2 separate regions of the Homo sapiens genome follow, and region 2 is linked to region 1. Evidence: promoter capture Hi-C in human tissues and cell types (Jung and others, 2019). All regions are on one chromosome and are shown on one strand. Each heading gives the region's core, a stretch centred on a gene start or on the middle of the fragment in contact. The rest is flanking DNA. Distances are from core to core; before and after follow the strand shown. Region 1 holds the start of CYS1 (cystin 1). Region 2 holds the start of GRHL1 (grainyhead like transcription factor 1).

Evidence for each region. Contacts are between HindIII fragments. The study calls those that stand out against the background at their distance.
Region 2: a contact is called between the fragment with the promoter of GRHL1 here and the fragment with the promoter of CYS1 in region 1, in 2 of the 25 tissues and cell types used here (pancreas and stomach).

Annotation. Positions count from the first base shown.
Region 1 is chr2:10,079,140-10,082,756 of GRCh38, forward strand. It overlaps CYS1 (cystin 1), which reads right to left and starts at 1,272. Exons shown (of 3, transcript NM_001037160.3): 1 at 767-1,272. The coding sequence starts at 1,084. RefSeq lists silencers at 407-746, 817-1,056, 1,117-1,176, 1,347-1,586. The HindIII fragment of the contact is 24,294 bases long and covers 1-3,617 here.
Region 2 is chr2:9,949,331-9,952,942 of GRCh38, forward strand. It overlaps GRHL1 (grainyhead like transcription factor 1), which reads left to right and starts at 2,363. Exons shown (of 16, transcript NM_198182.3): 1 at 2,363-2,523. The coding sequence starts at 2,504. LOC105373422 (a long non-coding RNA gene) reads right to left here and starts at 1,523. Exons shown (of 3, transcript XR_922784.4): 1 at 1,375-1,523. RefSeq lists silencers at 1,594-1,673, 1,824-1,873, 1,974-2,023, 2,114-2,653. The HindIII fragment of the contact is 17,390 bases long and covers 1-3,612 here.

The sequences.
Region 1 (3,617 bases), core at 22-2,521:
ACTGTCGCCTGGGGCTGTCCCTCTCCCCCACCCTCCCTGGGGCCTTTTCAGGATTCCTTGGTGCGGTAGCCACCCAGGAAGGCATCTTCCTCGGCTCCCAGCGGCTGCTAAGCAAAGCCTCCCGGGCCTCAGGGAGGAGGACGAGGCCCTTGGCATCCTCCCCGAGCCCGGGAGCGGATGTTAAAGATCTTGTTCATTCAGCTCTGCTGGAGCGAAGACGGTTGCCAAACCAGAGTGCTTGTTTTATTGTTTTTTTAGAACAGCAGGACTGTTATTACGAGTATTCAGGGAGAGAGAATAGGAAGCGCAAAAGAGATTCCGCAGCATCCTAAAAATATCAGTAACATGAGAATTGCCTGCCCAGCAAGGCAAGGATCTGGACCGGTGGGCGCGGCAGGGCGCTTCTGAGCCACCGTCTGGCTGCCGTGCCACCACCGCCGGCGCCCCGCTCCAGGGCGGCCCGGGAAGGCCAGGCGGGGCCGCGGGCCCGAGGGGAGCCGGGAGCCCGGCGCGCTCCGCCTAGGGGTGTCCTTCCTCGGCCGCTCCCAGCGCGATCGCCCCCACGCCTGGACACAGACCCGGAGACGGGGCAGAGAGGGAGGAAACCTGGGGGCCCAGGGGCGGGGAGGCCGGGGCAGCGGGGAGCACGCAAGTCGGAGGCTGGAAGGGGGCGCAGCGCGACCGGCGCCCAGGGCTGGGGCGGGGACGCGCGGCCGGTGAGTGGGGTCCCCGCCGTCCCCCGAGGCCCTGCGGCTCCCACACTCACCGCGCTCCCCGCGACCGCGGTGGGTCGGAGCCGGGCTGGGCGGCGCGGGGCGGGCTCCGGGGGGCCCCAGGCCGCCGACTCGGCCAGCAGCTCGTCCAGCAGGCGCAGCGTCTCGTCCCTGCCGTCGGGGGGCGCCACGGGGCTGGGGTCGCGGCCGGGCGCCTCCTCCGCGGCTGCCCCCGGGACCTCGGCCGCCGCCACCGGCACCCGCCGGCGGGTCCCGCCCTCCAGGGCTGCCGCTCCGGGCCCCGCGGGGAGGCTCTCGGGGCTGCGCCGCCGCCTCAGAGTCCGGCTGCTCCGGCTGCTGCCGCTGCCCATGGCGCGCCCGCCGCCTCCCGGACCGCCGAGGGGGCCCCCATGAGGGGGCGCGGCCGGGGGCGGGGACGCTAGGGGGTGCGGCCGGGGCGGGCTGCAGGGGGAGGCGCGGGGCGAGGTCCGGGAAGCGACCGCGGCCAGGGGCTAGGGTTCCCGGGCGGGGGTCGCGGCCGGAGGACGGGGGTGCGAGCCGGAGCCTGGGGAGGGGCGGGCGAGGCAGGGCTGCATAGGCGTCCCGAGGGGGCGCACACCGGCCCTAGGGAGGGGCGGGCCCGAGACCCCGGCGAGGAGCACCGGGTGCGGGCGCGGCCTCCCCTCCCGGGTCTCCCCCTACAGTCCCCCCACTCCCGCCCACGGGTCCCCTCGCTCCCCGCCGTCGGGTCAGCCCTGTCCCGGCCTTCTGGAATTGCTGAACCCTGCGGGGGGCCCGGCTGAGTTTGTTCATTTATGGAAACGCTCCCCAGACGACGCTCGCCGGGCCCGTGGGAGGCCGCGGGAGCTTGGGGGGACTTCCCAAAGCCTGAGCCCCCTAGCGATGCGCGGGGTGGGCGGGGGAAAGACCCTGAGGGCTGCGCGCGCTGCGTTCGCGAGGTCCGGCCGTCAGTGCGCCCCGACCTTTCAGTGTCCGCCAGGCCTGAGACGCCCCGGGAGGGAAGGGGCGATCCTCCGGGCACCAACAGCCCCCTCCGGCCTTCTCCTTCCCTCTGTTGCCCCAGCGGAGACTGGATGTGTGAAGGTTGAGCCTCATCAAAACCTCCAAATAGTCACTACTTTTGGGAAAGAAAAACTTTGAAAATGAAGGAGAAAGGCAAAGCAACCCCCACCTCGCCCTCCCCCCGCCACAGGAAAGAAGCAAAAGGAAATACCTAGGTGGTGGTCATAAGTCTAGCTTTTGGTCTCGGATTTTTTTTTTTTTTCCCTTAACCGCTTTTCTTTTTAAGTGAACTAACCACAACCCAGACTAGAAAACACTCCAAAGCTGCCGAATTCAAACCCAGCGAGCCTTCCTGTTGGTTGGTTCTGTGTTTTACTTAAATGTGATTACTTCCTTCCCTTGCCCACCTCCTGCAACTTTAAATTCCAGCCTTTCCAAGACAGGGCAATTCAAAAGTCCTGGGTTTAACTCACCTATCTTGACTTGACATTAACTTTTATCCTGATTGATTGGATTCCAGAATAATTGTGAAAATGGAATTTCGGCTAAACTTTCCCAACCACAGACTTGAAATTCTACTATTTTATCACTTCAGGAGTAGACATTAAAAAACATATGCCTAAGAAAATGGAATAAAAATGGGACTCAGATTCACATCCATTTATTTTTATTATTAAGAGAGAACAAGAGGCCGGGCGCGGTGGCTCACGCCCGTAATCCCAGCACTTTGGGAAGCCGAGGCAGGTGGATCACGAGGTCAAGAGACCGAGACCATCCTGGCTAACACGGTGAAACACCGTCTCTACTAAAAATACAAAAAATTAGCCGGGCGTGGTGGCGGGCGCCTGTAGTCCCAGCTACTCAGGAGACTGAGGCAGGAGAATGGCGTGAACCCGGGAGGTGGAGGTTGCAGTGAGCCGAGATCGCGCCACTGCACTCCAGCCTGGGCGACAGAGTGAGGCTCGTCTCAAAAAAAAAAAAAAAAAAAAGAACAAGAAAGTATTTATAATCTAGCTGGACGTGGTGGCTCATGCCTGTAATCCCAACACTTTCAGAGGTTGAGGCGAGCAGATCACTTTAGGTGAGGAGTTTGAGACCAGCCTGGCCAACATGGTGAAACTGTCTCTACTAAAAATACAAAAATTAGCTGGGCATGCTCACTTGAACCCAGGAGGTGGAGGTTGCAGTGAGCCGAGATCACGCCACTGCACTCCAGCCTGGGCAACAGAGCTGGACTCTGTCTCAAAAAAAAAAAAAGAAAGAAAGAAAAGAAAAGAGAGAGAGAAGAGAGGTGAGACAGAGAGGGAAAAGAAAAAGAAGAGAAAAAAAATGAGGCTGTAATCCCAGCACTTTAGGAGGCTGATGCGAGCGGATCACTTCAGGTCAGGAGTTCGAGACCAGCCTGGCCAATAGGATGAAACCCTGTCTCTACTACAAATACAAAAATTAGCCGGGCATGGTGAAGGGCACCTGTAGTCCTAGCTGCTCGGGAGCCTGAGGCAGGAGTCACTTGAACCCGTTAGGCGGAGGTTGCAGTGAGCCGAGATCGCACCACTGTACTCCAGCCTGGGCAACCAAAGAGACTCCGTCTCAAAAAAAAAAAAAAACAAAACAAACAACAACAACAACAAACAATAAAGAAAAAGCAAAAAGAAAAGAAAAAAAATTTTTTAAAGGGAAGTATTTATGATCCCCCCTGCCTTTTTTTTGAGACGGAGTCTCGCTCTGTTGCACAGGCTGTAGTGCAGTGGCCGGATCTCTGCTCACTGCAACCTCCGCCTCCCGGGTTCAAGTGATTCTTCTGCTTCAGGCTCCTGAGCAGCTGGGATTACAGGCACGCACCACCACATCCGGCTAATTTTTGTATTTTTAGTAGAGACA
Region 2 (3,612 bases), core at 1,113-3,612, 130 kb before region 1:
TGCCTGGTCAACTTAGTGAAACCCCATCTCTACTAAAAATAGAAAAATTAGCCGAGCGTGGTGGTGGGCGCCTGTGATCCTAGCTACTTGGGAGGCTGAGGCAGGAGAGTCGCTTGAACCCAGGAGGCAGAGGTTGCAGTAAGCTGAGATCACGGCACTGCACTCCAGCCTGGGCAACAGAGGGAGATTCCGCCTCAAAAAAAAAAAAAAAAAAAAAAAGGAAAAGAAAAAAATAATAAATGATTTAAACAGGAAACTAGTGGTAAGAACAAACAACAGGCTGCATGGATCCAGTGCTGGGCCCGGGGTCAGAGGACAGAAACTGCGAAGGGCGGTCTCAAGTGAGGCTGCCGATTCCGGTCCCTGAAGGCCTTGGACCAGGGCACAGAGGAGGGACTGCTGGCTGCAGGAGGGCCCTGTGACCTCATGCTGCTCCTCACTTCACCTCCTTCCCTTGGCTTCCACGCTTCCATTGCTTCCGACCTCGGTGTCCCCGTCTTCTGTCTCCTCCACTGGCTCTTCCTCCCAGCCTTTCTGTGTCGGAGGCTCCTGGATCCAGCATGGGTCCCATCCTCTTTCCTTCCTGCCTTCTCATGGCTTTAAATGGCCTCTAGACGTGGGCGGCGCCCAGATGTGAGCTTCAGCCCAGACTTCTCCCTTGCACTCCAGCCTCGTACCCAGGAGCCCACCTGATTCATGGATTTTTATCTCCCATACATCTTGAGCTTAGCACGTCCAAAACAGACTCTCGTTCTCCCCCAAATCTTCTATGCCCCAGGTCTTCTGTATCCCAGGGGATGGCAAATCATTCCTCCAGTTGCCCAGCTGGAAACGCTGTAGTCATCCTTGATTCTCTCTTTCTCTCACACCCCATATCCAATTTTCAGACAATCCTGCTGGTCCCACCTTCAAAGCATATCCAGAATTCGGCCACTTCCCACCACCTCACTCTATTGCCCTCGGCCTGCATCATGGCAATGGCCTCCTACCTGGTCCCCACCACGCAGCAGCAGAGAACTATTTTAAAATGTGAGACCCTGTCACTACCCTGCTCCAAGCCCCTCCAAGGCGTCCCCACCTAGCCCAGAGGGAAAGCCACAGTCCTTACGGAAGCCGGCAAGGCCCTGCTCAATCCGCTCCCCTGCGCCCACTATCTCTGACCGCAGCTCCCGCCTCCCTGTGCCCCACCAGCCACCCGGGTCTCCTCAAGGGTCACAAAACACACCAGGGTCCCTGCCTCAGGTACAGTCCCACCTTCGTGGCCCCTCATCTCCTTCAAGCCTGAAAGCCTCGCTCCTCCCCGCCTCCCCAGGGCCTGCCTGCTTTACCTTCCAACCAGCCACACCATTTACTTGTTTTTGTATTGCCCGTTACCCCAACTAGGAAGGCGAGGAGTTGTGTCTGTTCTGTTGACTGCCCTGTCCCCGGCGTCTGGGGCCGCGCCTGTCCGAGGGTCAGGTCCGACGCTGGGCATGTGGGGACTCAGTGAGCGGACCCTGGGAAAGACGGCAGCTCGGGAAGGACAAGTGGGGGCCGTCGCGGTGGAGTGGTGCCCGGGGCCGGCCCGGGGCGCGCGACTGCACGGGCAGCGTGGGGCGGCCGCGCGGGGAAGTGGCGCCCGGGAGGCTGCGGGGCACAGACATCGCGGAGCCCCAGGGACTGCCGCCGAGGGGACCGCGGGAGCTGCGAGGGCAAGAAATCCTAAAAGCGCGCGGCCGCGGTGGGCCAGGAGAAGGGACATTCCGGAGACGGCTCTCGGGGGAAGCCACGGGACTCGGGCGTGACAGCCTGCGAGAACCGAGAGGTGAGACGCGCGACCGGGGAGCGCGGCGACCGGCAGAGGCGCCCCCGCCGGGCGAGCGCAGGGGCAGCGCGGGGCGCTGGGGCCGGAACAGCGGGCAATGTGGGCACGGGGCGCGGAGGCCTGAGTGAGCGAAGAAGGAGGCGGCTGTACGGCCGGGGCTCGTCGCGAAGGGGATGGCCGGGGACGGCGGGGACGGCGGGGGCGGCGGGGGCGGTGGCGGGGCGCGAGCGGGGGCGCTCTCGGTGCGCGCGGAGGTTGGCGGGTGCGCGCCGCAGCCGCAGCGCTCCCTCTCCTGTCAGGGCAGGCGCGTACGGCCGCGAGTCGGGCGCGCAGCCCCGGGAGCGCAGTCCCGGGCGCAACCTCGCGGAACGCGCGGCCCCCGCCCCCCGCCCCGCGCCGCTCGTCCCCGTCAGCCCCGCCCCGGCGCTCTTCTCGCCGACCAATCAGGAGGCGCGACCGGCCTCCCAGCCCCGAGGCCTCGCCCCCAGCCGGCGCATCGCCAGCCAATGAGCGGCCGAGCCCGGCGCCCAGTGCGCGCAGCCCGCGCGGAGCCGGCTCAGAGCGAGAAAAGCAAACCCAACCCGTCGGGGCCGCCGCTCCGGACCCGCAGCCGCCGCCGCCGCCTCCTCCCCCCGGATCGGGTGTACTGTCCCAACCCGAAAGTCCAGTTCTGCGGCCCGGCAGCGGCGAGCGGGCGCGATGACACAGGAGTACGACAAGTGAGTGAGGCGCAGGAGTCCGGCCGCCGCGGGGGGGCCGCGCTGAGGGGCCGCACCTGCAGCGAGCGAGCCGGGCGCAGACCCGAGGCCGCGCGGGCGGGCGGGCGCGGGGCGCGAGCCGGGGGCCGCTGTCCACTCCACGCCGCCACGGCCTTTGCCCCTTAGCCCTGCCGTGCTCTTTGTTCGGTCGGAGCCTCGGGAGGAGAGACCCTGTCCTCGGGGAAACTCGACACCGGAGGGGCCACCCTCCTCCCCTCCTCCGCGGCCAGGTTGGGTCCCCTCGGGCGCGCACCTTGGGGTCCGGGCCCCCGGCGCGGTCGGGTGCGGCGCGAGGTCGGGGCGCAGCCAACGCCCCCGGGCCTCCCCGCCCCCCTCTCCTGCCCGGTCGGCCTCGGGAGCCTGGTGGGGCTCGCGCCGCGTCGGGACAGGTGGACTTCTCCAGGTAATCTGTGGTCTCAGGCTCGTCACTCGGCGACCTGCTGGAACCTCCAAAACAGAAATGTAGGGAAAGGTTGAAGTGCCCCGATGTCCGGGCGTTTTCTTTTCCCTGGCTGGCGGCATGAGTGGGAAAACGGCTGTAGGAGTTATTTTGCCACTTGCATCATTGATGGTAATTACAGATTACCGTGTTTTTAGTGCTCGAGAGAATCAAGAGGATGAAACTTTGAAATCCGGGTGTTAAACGAGAAAGTACTGTACAAGCTAATATGCTTTTTAGAGTGTGTGATTTAAAAGCGTATTTCGACAAATGTGAGGTGGTAGTGTAATAAGGCATGGGGGATTAACTGGGCGAGGGAGTTTTCTGTATTTTCTTTGCAGCTTTTCTGAAAATATAAAATTGTCCTAAAAATTTTAAAAACTTACTAAAGAAAAAACAGGGAAATCGCACCAGGCCAGTCAGTATATTTCAGATCAGGAAGTTTAAGGCAGATAGGTACCCCTCCCAGTTTCTTAGTTATTTGTGAAGGATCGGTTTTTGTCAGTGTGTTCTTTTTCTGGATGAGATAGATATTTTGTATGGAGTATCTTAAATGGATTACTCTTATGTTGTAGAATATGCAGTTAAATTATTGCCTGAAACATATTTCA